Linked DNA regions of Homo sapiens: region 2 is linked to region 1. The links are contacts of gene promoters, found by promoter capture Hi-C in blood cells and fetal thymus (Javierre and others, 2016). All regions are on one chromosome and are shown on one strand. The core of a region is centred on a gene start or on the middle of the fragment in contact, and the rest is flanking DNA. Distances in the headings are between cores, read along the strand shown. Region 1 holds the start of STAM2 (signal transducing adaptor molecule 2). Region 2 has its middle 42 kb from the start of RPRM.

Region 1 (6,404 bases), core at 1,563-4,062:
TTTGGTGGAGAGATCCGGTAACAAAAAGTTGGGAAATAGGTAAAATAATAACTTGGGGTAGAGGTTATGCTGTATTTCTCCAGGCCAAAATCAACAGCCGATTTGGATACCATCAAGACACCTGAAACCTTATCATTAGCCAGATGCCAAGGAAGAGATTCTGGGAGGATCCCAAGGACCCCCCCCCCCGGTTGCAGCCATGTTGAGACTGACACTGAGAAGGACCCCAACTGTCGTGAGCTATACCCATCAAACACAGCCACCCACCTGGGGACAGACCAAGAAGCTGTCACAGATGGCAGAAGAAAACCTGAGGAAAGCGGGACAACCAATCACAACGAGTAATTTAATGGTAGCTACCATAGCGGTGATCACCATTGCCATAAGTATTCCTTCAACAAGGGCTGCCGAGACCAGCTCGGTCGGGGAGAGCCTAACCTAGCGGCGCTAGAGGAATTAAAGACACACACATAGAAATATAGAGGTGTGAAGTGGGAAATCAGGGGTCTCACAGCCTTCAGAGCTGAGAGCCCCGAAGAGAGATTTACCCACGTATTTATTAACAGCAAGCCAGTCATTAGCATTGTTTCTACAGATATTAAATTAACTAAAAGTATCCCTTAAGGGAAACGAAGGGATGCGCCGAATTAAAGGAATAGGTTGGGCTAGTTAACTGCAGCAGGAGCATGTCCTTAAGGCACAGATCACTCATGCTATTGTTTGTGGCATAAGAAGGCCTTTAAGTGGTTTTCCACCCTGGAAGGGCCAGGGGTTCCTTGCCCTCATTCCAGTAAACCCACAACCTTCCAGCGTGGGCATTATGGCCATCACGAACATGTCACAGTGCTGCAGAGATTTTGTCTATGGCCAGTTTTGGCCATTCTCCTGAGGCAGGAGAATGGTGTGAACCCAGGAGGCGGAGCTTGCAGTGAGCCCAAATCGCGCCACTGCACTCCAGTCTGGGTAACAGAGTGAGACTCCATCTCAAAAAAAATTTTTTTTTACTATTCTGCTACCCAATATCCTTAAATAATTATTGAGTGCCTTAATCAAAATAAAAAATTCCCAGCTTGCCCTTTAAAATTCTTGTCAATCTGTTTCCTCTTATACCTAGTCAGCCTTGTTTTCCATTCCAACACTAAGTCTTAGACAAAAAGTCTTTATCTGTCCAAAAAATCTCTAAGTCTTTTTTTTTTTTCTTTTTTCGAGACAGAGTCTTGCTCTGTTGCCCAGGCTGGAGTGCAGTTGCCTGATCTTGGCTCACTGTAACCTCTGCCTCCTGGGCTCAAGTGATTCTCGTGCCTCAGCCTCCCAAGAAGTTGGCATTACAGGCTTGCGCCACCATGCCTGGCTAATTTTTGTATTTTTAGTAGAGACGGTTTTTCGCCATGTTAGCCAGTCTGGTCTTGAACTCCTGGCCTCAAGCAGTCTGCCCGCCTTGGCCTCCCAAAGTGCTGGGATTACATGCGTGAGCCACCATGCCCGGCCTCCCAATTTATCTTGAACATCCCTAGGTTCAACGTTCTATGAAAAACAGCCCCTTCTGCACGATTCCTTCTCATTTGTGCCCCGAACTTTATAAAATGCAACCACCTTTCTGAATGTGTATGAGCTCTCTATAGCATCAGGTCTTTATACTAGAGTTTGTAAAATGGTTTTGATTAATCTATTATTTAAAATGTTGGAGTAATTCTCAACATTTAAACATCATTGAAAAATTGCAAACTCTAGTAGGACCCACATTTCAATAAATGGCTGCAATTTACCAGTAGTTGACATCTTTAGATACGCACTGTTCAGTTAGAAAGTTACAGCTTCATTCGAAAAGCATTGAGCGTCTATTACTTGGGACACTGTTTTAGACGCTGGGGATATAGTAGTGACCAAAACTTATCAGGGAGTTTATAATCTAATGAGGAGGAGAGACAGGCAACATAATCATTACTACAGTTTTCTAAGAGGAACAGAGAATATGTGGGTGGGAAGGGTGCTTGGGCTTTTGCATTCATTTAAATACCTGGCTGGATGCTGTTGGAATTTGAGTTTATGACTCGTACTACCATCCGAATCGTCATACACCATCATGTACGTTATGCACTGCCCCTATAAAACTCTCAACAAGTCTAAGGCAGGGAGTGTGCCTCCTTCGCCTTTGGATTCCGGGGGCCCAGCAGTGTTTTTATGGAGGGGACACGATGGAAAGCGAAAAGTTAGGCGTAGTTACTTCGACCACCGCTGTCCCGGGTGGTTATTCTGACGGGGTTTGGACTGGGCGCCTGGGAGGGTGCAACACAATAATTGTTGAAGAGCAGTCAGGTCTTTCGCAGAATCTCAAAGCCACCTCCGCGCCGGCAGCTCCGTTTCTAGGGAAACAGGACTGTAACGCGTACGCGTCGTGGGTCCTCGTTCTCTAGCTACGAGTCCTGCCGCTCTGAAACAAACTAAATTCGTGACAAGAACTTGGCCCTCAGAGCCCGTCGTCCAACGCGAAAAACCACGGGTAACCGCGCCCCCTGCCGCGCCGCCGCTGGCACTGCAGCTTCCGGGGTCGTCCAGTTCCAGGCGGGACTACTTCCGGCTCCGAAGGTCCCCGGCTTCGTGGCTAGCCGGGGTCCTAGCGCTGGAAAGGTGGCCGTAGCGGCCGCCTGACCCCTACAAAAGTCTGGGACAGGGGCAGCGACAAAGGCCTTGGGAGGACGCCCATGGTCGGAGGGATCTCGCCCCGGGAGAAAAGTTGGGACAGGAGCGCGGGATCGAAGGGTGGACTCCGAGCCGGCCTGTCAGGCAAGAGCCGGGCAGGTGCGGTGGCGGAAGTGCAGGGACGGAGGCCGAAGCGGAGCGGTCTAGGGAGCCGCGGCCGCGGGTCACCCGGCGGGTAGCAGTTGCTGAGTGTCAGCTAGACAGCAGCGACTAGGGCTCGGGCGCCGGCGAGATGCCTTTGTTCACCGCCAACCCCTTCGAGCAAGACGTGGGTGAGTGCTGTGCCCGGTCCTGGACTGCTGTGTGCCTGGCCCTGGACTGCTGTTTGTCCGGCTAGAAAGTGGGCGGTAGCGACTCCGGGGACTAGGAAGCAAAGCGAAGGGAGGGGAGGGGCGGTGCCGCCCGCTCCTTCGACGTTGGGATTTTTCTGGGGCAACCTCGGCGCGTCGCTAGCGGTCTGGGGAGTGCTTCCTGCCGCCTGAGTTTGGGGACCCTCAAAGGGCCGTTCTCCTTGCCAAGCGTAGGATTTGGGAAGAGCCTAGGGCTCGCTGGAGACTGGACTGATTAAGTAGTTGTGGAGTTGGTGATTAAAAACTTCCTGCTCGTTCGACAGCTGGTTACCTCCGTCTTTGCCCCATCGTTTTCTGAAGATGATGCAGCAGTGGAGACCCTGCTGTCTAGAGAAGCCCAACACTAGACACTTGACACCTAGACAACCGCATTGAATAGGAAGAACTTACTTCCCCATTATTTATATTACTCATGCATTCAATCCCTGATAGGGTAGCTTTAAGATTTATTACAATTGTAAAGGTGTTGCTCTTCATCCCCGGATTGCAAAGATTGCGCGGGTGCTAGGAGATGTTCGGTTTTAGAGTATGAAAAGGAAATCTCCAGTCTCAAAACACTCCAGAACAACAAGTATTTTACATGTTGCAGTCATAAAGCGCTGGTCTCTCAGTGACTATAGAATGAGAAAAACATGGATAAGATATATACGAAATTATTTAGGAAATTTGAGTAACACTAAAACAAACTGAGAAATATATGTATGTATTCTCGAAAGTCTGGGTCTCACTATGTTGCCCAGGTGCGACTAGAATTCCTCCCACCTCAGCCTCCACCTCCGTTTCCCCTTCCCGAGTAGCTGGGACTACAGGTTTGTTTTTTGTTTGTTTTTGTAGCAGTAGTTAACAGAACCCTAGGTAAATTTTTAGAACTTGGAAATGGGGTTGGGGCGGGGAGACTCAGAAGAATACTGCACATCTCAGCAGTAATTCCCCTGTTTCATAGTTAACATTTGGTTATTAGGAGACTGTAGAAAGTGCCCTATTCTGATACGTTGTGTAATCCCCTAAGCCATTTTAAAAAACATGTTTGAGTCAAATAATATATGTAAATAGTTCAAATATGTATGTTCCTTACTTCATTAAACTTTTTTTTTGGTGGATGAATACAGGTGACTGGCGTAAATCTGGGAAACATCACTCTTAAGGCTCACTGTTTCCTTTTGGAACGCCTCATTGCAGTATTCTTTTGTTTGAATCATACAACCTTTGTGCAACCTGTACTTTTAAAAAATTGCTATTATGAACACTTTGATTCTGTTCTAATGAAATAAAACAGAAGGCGCAAAATAGAATTAGACAAATGATTTTAAAACTTAAAAACCGTGAATTCTTTTCTTCAATATAAATTTTTCTTGAAAGTTCATTGTTTTCTGATGGAAAAATTCTCTGGTACAAGTAGGCAGAGTTGCTCTGTCTGTTCTGTTCTAAACCTTTCCCTGCCTGGCTCCCGAGGCCCCAGCATTGGTTTAGTGGATCACAGTTTAGTCCTACAGTTGTAAAGGAGGCACTGCTGTTGAGATTAAAAAAACAAACAAACAAAAAAACTGTGTCTAGATTATTTTATGGCCAGTGCCATAAGCCAGAGCTTCAAGTAGTTACATATTAGCTTAAGCATGACTGAATTCAGAACCCCAAAGGCATTTTAAGGGTGAAAGAATGAATTTGAGGCCCTCCTGTAACTTCTGGACAAGAGAATGGAATTAGAAAAAGTAGAATGAAATACTAAAGAGCTCAAATTGGACTTGCACGTATATCATAGAAGAAAAATTATATATTACGTTTTTAATATCTTAAAACTTTTCATTTCAAATCGTTAATACAAAGCAAGGGTCAGGCGCAGCGGCTCACGCCTGTAATCCCAGCACTTTGGGAGGCCGAGGCGGGTAAATCACTGGAGGTCGGGAGTTTGAGACCAGCCTGACCAACATGGTGAAACCCCGTTTCTACCAAAATACAAAAAATTAGCCAGGCATGGTGGCGCGTGCCTGTAGTCCCTGCTACTGGGGAGGCTGAGGCAGGAGAATCACTTGAACCCGGGAGGCGGAGGTTGCAGTGAGCCAATATCTCGCCACTGCCCTCCAGCCTGGCGACAGAGCAAGACTCCGTCTCGAAAAAAAATATATATATATATGTATACATATATATATATATGTATATATATGTGTGTATATACGCCCACAGACACACACGCATACACAAAGCAAGTCATTATTTGACTTGAGATGTCTACAGGAAATGTTACTTTACATTGTCATTGTCTTTTTCACTTGTTCTCTTTGATTCAGTCAGATTTTTGTTACCCTTTTTTTTTTTTGGTCATTCCTTTGTTCACTCTTCATTCAGCAGGCATACATTGAATAATTACTGTGTGTCAAGCATTGTGTTAATCTATGGACACAAAATGAGTAAATAGACTGTGAGTTCCTGCCTTCAAGGAACTCTCAATCTAATGGAGGAAACAGAGAGACATAAGACCTGTAATTTAGTACGATAAGTATAGTGCTACAAATATACAAGAAGCTTTAATCCTCTTTTATTTAAAATAGTCATAGTCCCTGAAGAAAAGACAAGGACCTTCAGATAGGAGCTTTCTCTGTAAAGGTGTTGACACTATCCTCTCCTTCCCACCTTTTCTTTTTTCTTTTTCTTTTTTTTTTTTTTTGAGACGAATCTGTCTCTCAGGCTGGAATGAAGTGGCCTGATCTTGGCTTACTGCAACCCCGCCTCCCGGGTTCAAGTGATTTTCCTGCCTCAGCCTCCCGAGTAGCTAGGACTACAGGTGCGCACCACCACACCTGGCTAATTTTTTGTATTTTTAATAGAGATGGAGGTTTCACCATGTTGGCCAGGCTGGTCTTGAACTCCTGCCCTCAAGTGATCTGCCCGCCTCGGCCTCCCAAAGTGTTGAGATTACAGGCGTGAGCCACTGTGCCCAGCCTCCTCCCCCCCTTCTCTGATAGCACTTTCCCAACAGGAAGTAACCACCTTTTGCTAATGTATGATATGGTCATTTTATGATTAAAGGCCTTTAAAGATTAATCTCTTTTGGTAGGTGAAGAGTCTTGCAGGAGGGTGAGCAGTCTTTCTGACAGTCATATGAGGAAGGAATCCTTTTCTCAGGGGCTGAGAAAAGGATGGGTCAAGATGTCTTAGGAAGGCACTCATGAATTGATGATGATATGTGACTTGTCAAATGGAAGCAGGCCAAAGGCTAGGAAGTAGGGAACTCTGGCAAATTCCTGTCTTTTCTTGGCATCAGAACCTACAAGCCCTGAAGGATATACTAGATTTGGTAGTGTTAGAACTCTTTAAACATTTTATCTAGATTCATTTTTTTGTTTTGTTTAATAAGAT
Region 2 (6,404 bases), core at 1,904-4,403, 1.3 Mb before region 1:
TTTGTGATTAAAAAAAATTCCCAGTAAATGTTTAATACAGGGAAATATATAACTCAACTTGACTTAAAAATATGTACAAAACACCTACAGCTAACATCATACTTAATAGTGAGAAACTCAAATCTTTCTCACTAAGATTAGGAACAAGGTCATCTCACCACTGCCTTTCAACATCATACTGGAAGTCCTAGCTAATGCAATAAGAGAAGAAAAAAGAGTAAAACATATTCAGATTAGAAAGGAAGAAATAAAACTCTGTTCACAGATGATATAATTATCCATATATAAAATTCAAGAGTCAACAAATTCTTCTGAAACTGGTAAGTGATTACAGCATGATTGCCAGATACAAGGTTAATATACAAAAGTCAATCACGTTCCCCTCTACCAGCAATAAACAAGTGGAATTTGAAATTAAACTCACAATATTACTTACATTAGCACTCAAATAAGATACTTAAGTACAGATCTAACAAAATATGTACAAGGTCTATCTGAGGAAAACTATAAAACTCTGATGAAAGAAAGCAAAGAACTAAATTAACGGTGAGATGTTTTGTTTTTATGAACAAAAGACTCAATATTGTTAAGATGTCAGTTCTTTCAAACTTGGTCCATAGATTCAATGCAATTCCAGTCAAAATTCCAGCAAGTTATTTTTGTAGATATCACCAGACTGATTCTAAAGTTCATATGGAGAAGTAAATGACTCAGATAGCCAATACAATATGTAAGAAGAACAAAGTTGGAGTATTGATATTGCCTGACTTTAAGATGTACTATAAAGCTACAGTAATCAGAAAAATTTGGATCATCAAAAGAGAACATAGATCCCAGAAATAGACCTGTATAGTCAATTGATCTTTGACAAAGGAGCAAAGCCAACGCAATTGAAAGGAGAATCTTTTCAACAAATGGTGTTTGGAACAACTGGACACCCACATGCAAAAAAAAAAAAAAAAAAAAAAATAGTAAACACAGACCTTGCATCCTTCACAAAAAATAACTCAAAATGGATCATAGACCTAAATGTAAAACACAAAACTGTCAACCTTTGAAGAGATAACATACATGTCCTTGGGTTTATCAATGACTTTTTAGATACAACACCAAAAGCACAATCCATGAAAGAAGGAATTGATAAATTGGACTTCATTAAAACTACAAACTTTTGTTCTGCAAAAGACACTATGAAGAGAATCAAAAAGCCACAGATTGGGAGAAAATATTTGGAAAAGACATATCTATTAAAGCACCGTTATCCAAAATACACAAAGAACTCTTAAAATTCAAAAATAAGAAAACATCCAATTAAAAAGGGGGCCAAATATCTCAATAGGCACCACACGAAAGAAGATGTACACATGGAAAATAAGTACCTGAAAAGATGCTCCACATATGTCTTCAGGGAAATGCAAATTTAAAACAACAAGATACCACTATACTCCTTTTAGGATGGTCAAAATCCAGAATGAAAACACCACCACCAACAGAAACAACAGGAACTCTCATTCAGTGCAGGTAAGAATGCAAATAGTAAAGCTACTTTGGAAGACAGTACACTGGTTTCTTACAAAACTAAACTTACTCTTAGCATATGAGTAAGTTTAGTTTTGTGCCTCACTTCTCACACTCTCACTTATTGTGCCACTCTCTCTCTCTCTTTATTTTTTTCTCCTTGAGACAGAGCCTCACTCTGTCGCCCAGGCTGGAGTGCAATGGCGCGATCTGGGCTCACTGCGACCTCCACCTCCCAGGTTCAAACGATTCTCCCACCTCAGCCTCCTGAGTAGCTGGGCTACAGGCACGTGCCACCACACCTGACTAATTTTTTGTATTTTTAGTAGAGACAGGCTTTCACCATGTTGGCCAGGCTGGTCTCAAACTCCTGAGCTAGCGATCTGCCCACCACGGCCTCCCAAAGAGCTGGGATTACAGGCATGATGTGCTCCTCTTTTATTTAGCTAGTGAAGCTGAAAATTTATATTCATACAAAAAAATGCATACAGATGTTTATAGGAGTTTAGTTCATAATTTCCAAAATTTTGAAGCAACTAAGATATCATTCAGTTGGCAAATGGTCAAACTGTGGTACACCCAGACAATGGAATATTATTCAGCACTAAAAAGAAATGAGCTGAGCTGTCAAGCCATGAAAAGACACAGAGGACCATAAAATGCATATTACTAAGGGAAAGAGATCAATTTGAAAAGGCTACATACTATATAATTCCAACTATATGACATTCTAGGAAAGGTAAAACTATGGAGACCAAAAAAGATCAGCGATTGCCAGGAGTAGAGGGAGAGAGGAACAAATAGGCAGAATACGGATGATTTTGAGGGCCATGAAAATACTCTGTATGATACTATAGTAGTGGGTACATGTCATTATGCCTTTGTCAAAATCCACAGGATGGTACAACACCAAGAATGTAGCCTGATGTAAACTATGGACTTTGGGTGATAATGATGTGTCATTGTGGGTTCGTCAATTATAACATGTACCACTCTGGTACGGGATGTTGATAATGAGAAAGGCTGTGCATGTGTAGACGGAAGGGATATATGAGATATCTCTGTACTTCCCTCTTAATTTTGCCCTGAACCTAAAACTACTCAAAAATAGTCTTTTAAAAATTTGATGTAGTTTATGTTTTTGGACAATAAGAACTTAGGCAAGCAACTTAAAACTTTATGGTAAAGCTTTTCCATTAGGAAAAAAAAAAACCTAATGGTATTTATCATCCACTACCATAGTGGTCCTGTGTAAATTAATTAGAATGAAAACACTAATGAAAAATTAGAATGAGTTAAAAGAATGTTTGGAGCTCTTCAGAAGAAGGACTATGCTTTAAAACATCTGTAACATAGAACAAATATAACTTACAAGGATACTTTATATGGCGCTTTCAGGTGTACTTCCTAAACATCACTGTCTTCCTTTAAAGTAAAATAATAACATGTTTTAAAAGTATAAAATAGGGTTAAAATTAAATCTGTCATGCACCAAAAGGAATTTTGGGAGCTATAGGGAATGTATAAACATTCACTAATAAAATGTGCAATTTAAAAGAAATCTCTATTCAATTATCTCCATGAGCTCATATTCATCAACAAAATAACCTATTTATGATTTACATATCTCATGGTCTCTTCTGTTCATGTACTTTTGTCTACGGAAAGGAAATTATTCAGATTTGATTATTATATTCTAATAATTTATGAAGATAATAATGTACCACTAAAAGGGTTCTAAAATCACTTTGGGAATAATCAAAATAGAAGAGAAAATGTCTTTGAAATAAATTATAAGAGAAATGAAAAGCAGTAGGGCAGTCAATAGCAGGAAAATGTTAGGTGCCAATGCGCCAACCTCTCAGCATTTACTTTTATTTTTCGAGCATTAAGATAAAACTCTTCCATGGGAACCTCTGATGAGTTCTCCTTTTCTGACCAGAAAATAAAGAAATAAAGAAATGAAGCATTCCTGAGGTCAGACTGAGTTCTGATTTCTTCAGATTGCATTTTTGAATAAATCTTTAGATTCTCAATGAAGCCAACAATTCATAAAATTTTGAAAGCCCAAACTAAGCTTGAAAAGATATCTGTGTTCTTTGGTCACCAGAAAATTTTGAAGAATTATGAACCTCAAATGATGCCCTGAGATCACAAAATTTAGCTGCTAACCTTCCCAACCAATTAGGATCTACACTAGCCTGAATTGCTTAGTGTTTGTATTATTTTTATGACCTCTGGAGAAACAGATGCAACAATTATCCATTCCTTAAGGTACCTTACTGCCTGAAATAAAAATTATATGTGCAAAGATCATTAAAATAAATAACTCAAATATGTTGTTAAATATTATTTTTAAATGAGTAAATTTTTTTTCTAGTAAGACAGGAAGATGTCTGGCTCATATTAACATCATCATATGTTTAATAGTTTAATTTAGCATCTGGTGCCTTTGCTGCCAGCCCTACAGGGAGAGAGATTAAAGATGGACCACATCTGCAGTTAGTAATAGCCAATCAAAGCAGTCAGACTCTAAGAAAACGAAGATCTTCAGGCCACATTATATGCTGCTGGGTTGCTAGCCATAATTTGTGACATGTCCAGAACACTCCAGATATTCTGGATTTACCTAAGAAATAATACTAAACTTGAAGTGCTAAAACAAACCCAAAGGAATAAAATGTAATGGATTCCAATGGTGCCTTGTCACTCCATTTTTGTGACTCCTCTAACTTTAGCTTCTTACAGGGGGATTCTATTTGTAATACAAAATAGGAGAAAAAATAAGGTTGAGAATTTTTAATCACAAGAAATATTTCCCATTGAAGCCTATTGCTCTATCTTTTATAGCAAAAGTGAGCTAGCAACAGAATGGCTTGATTTGTCAACTGATTGAAGAAGAAACTTTATCTAAATAAACCCTACATTTATAGATGACATACAAGCAAAAAGCCCATGAAAGGGCAACAAAATCATAAAACAGTTAAAAAGAAAAAAAAGACAATGCTTCTGACCAGCAGGTGGCGCTGCAATCCATCATTGTTAGCCAATTGGAAATCTAAGAATACTTGTACTATCCTGTTGACTGTAATTTCCTATTTAGACTCTTCCTGATCCTTTTAACTTGGTGTGTTATGGCATGCTGTGCCCAGTTGTTTTCATTTCAGCACAGAACTCAAAGGAAATTGTTAGACCTGCAGGATTGATAGATTAACTCTGCTAACAATATCAACAATCAAAATTTGTAATAAACATTATCAACCCTGTGAATTATTAAATCAAGCCGTTTAAATGGAAAATATCGATTTTACAGTTTATCAACAGAATCCTGTTTGGACGTGTGAAATAGCAGCAATTTGTAGTAAAGTTAAGCTAAAGGGGTTTCTAAAAGTCCTAGGAGCCTTGGACACAATAGACTTACCCATTAACTTCTTAGTCTATGGCTTAGCAACAATTTAACATATATAGAATGACATAATTAGCAGAAATTTAAAGAATATAGTAAGTCATTTGTTCCAAGGATGGAAATGATCTGGCTAGCATATGTCTTATGCACCCTTTTGTGCCCAAGTCAGAAATCACAGTACCCAATTACAGTACTGTATTGTGCTGAGTCAATGCAAGGCTCTTAGCCTTTTCAGTAGAGCTCTCAATTCATATGAAACCCATTTTCCATCTCTGGGACTGATAAGAAAAGGCTCAGAGAAGTTAATTATTGTTCTAGGAACCCACTAAACATTTATAGAACCAGATACCAGATATTTCACCATCTAATAGATATTTATAGTTATTCTAGTTCAGTAACTTCTAGTTTTAGTTATTGAACTCAAATAACAATTTTATAATTTAAAATAATAATCTTTCTCCAATACTAAGAACTCATACAAACCCTTTACTTTATAAATTTAGCAGTACCTAGAATACAAAGAGGTTTAAAATATACTTGCCTAGTCACATAAAGTCAGTAACAGACATGATTCAAGCCCATGTCTTGTGACTTTGTTTTCTTAGTATATTTTGGATTTCTACTTCAGAAACAGGATTTTTCTTCTGTTTGTTTCTCCACTTATTCATTCTCATTTTTATAAAATCTTTATAGTCTCCATACGCATTTCAGAAACCATGTCAGGTATCAAGTATCCTGGATGAACAAATATACATGGTCCTTCCCATCAAAGAGCATGCAGTACAGCACTAAACAAGGAGACAGATTGTGTGTGACTTTCATTATGATAAGGGCTACGAAGAAAGAACTATGAGAAAAACAATAGAAGAACATATTTGGATTGGTCAGATAACATGTCTGAAGTCATTGGAAGAACACTGAAAAAATAAGAACCTACCAAAGGAAGGGCCAGGGTGTGTGTATTGGACAGGGGTCTGGAGTTGAGGGCAGTATATCCAGGAAGAAGAAAATGTGTGACTGTCCTGAGCTACCATGTTTTCTCAGCACCATAAAGATGATACTCATTTCTGGCACGAATCATTTTTTAAATCATGTTGTGTCCTGCTCAGTGCATCATATCAAGTGTTTCATGCTATTGATATGTCTTCTTATTGGGGATGTTTACCTTGGTCACTTCAGTCACTGTGTATTTGGTTATTCCACTGCAAATTTACTATTTTCTTCTCTGTAGTTGATGAGCATCCTAGGGGAGATACCTTGAAACTATATACATCCTCTTTCTCTTCAAACTTTTGCCAACTGATTTTAGCACACATTGGTGGATATTTATCTACAATATGTGTTACTATGATGTCTGCCTAATGGTGATTCTCTATTTCCCTTTTCCTTCTACATTAATGGAAATTCTACTGTGAGGAAGAGCTATCTGTAGCTCCCATTTACTTATTCAATTATTCATTTATAGTAGTAAGGACTCATG

What was found. The method cuts DNA at HindIII sites, captures the fragments that hold promoters and counts their contacts. A CHiCAGO score of 5 or more calls a contact.
Region 2: a contact is called between a fragment that was not itself captured here and the fragment with the promoter of STAM2 in region 1, in 3 of 17 cell types (total CD4 T cells, naive B cells and naive CD4 T cells). The highest score is 8.4, in total CD4 T cells.

The regions. Positions count from the first base shown.
Region 1 is chr2:152,172,171-152,178,574 of GRCh38, reverse strand. It overlaps STAM2 (signal transducing adaptor molecule 2), which reads left to right and starts at 2,812. Exons shown (of 14, transcript NM_005843.6): 1 at 2,812-2,972. The coding sequence starts at 2,933. It overlaps LOC105373689 (a long non-coding RNA gene), which reads right to left and starts at 3,042. Exons shown (of 3, transcript XR_923477.3): 1 at 2,018-3,042. RefSeq lists enhancers at 2,455-2,874, 2,351-2,874, 3,035-3,174, 3,225-3,274. The HindIII fragment of the contact is 5,938 bases long and covers 1-5,572 here.
Region 2 is chr2:153,517,609-153,524,012 of GRCh38, reverse strand. It overlaps a transcript of GALNT13 not described here. Among named protein-coding and RNA genes, the nearest start is that of RPRM, 42 kb to the right of the region's middle. The HindIII fragment of the contact is 889 bases long and covers 2,709-3,597 here.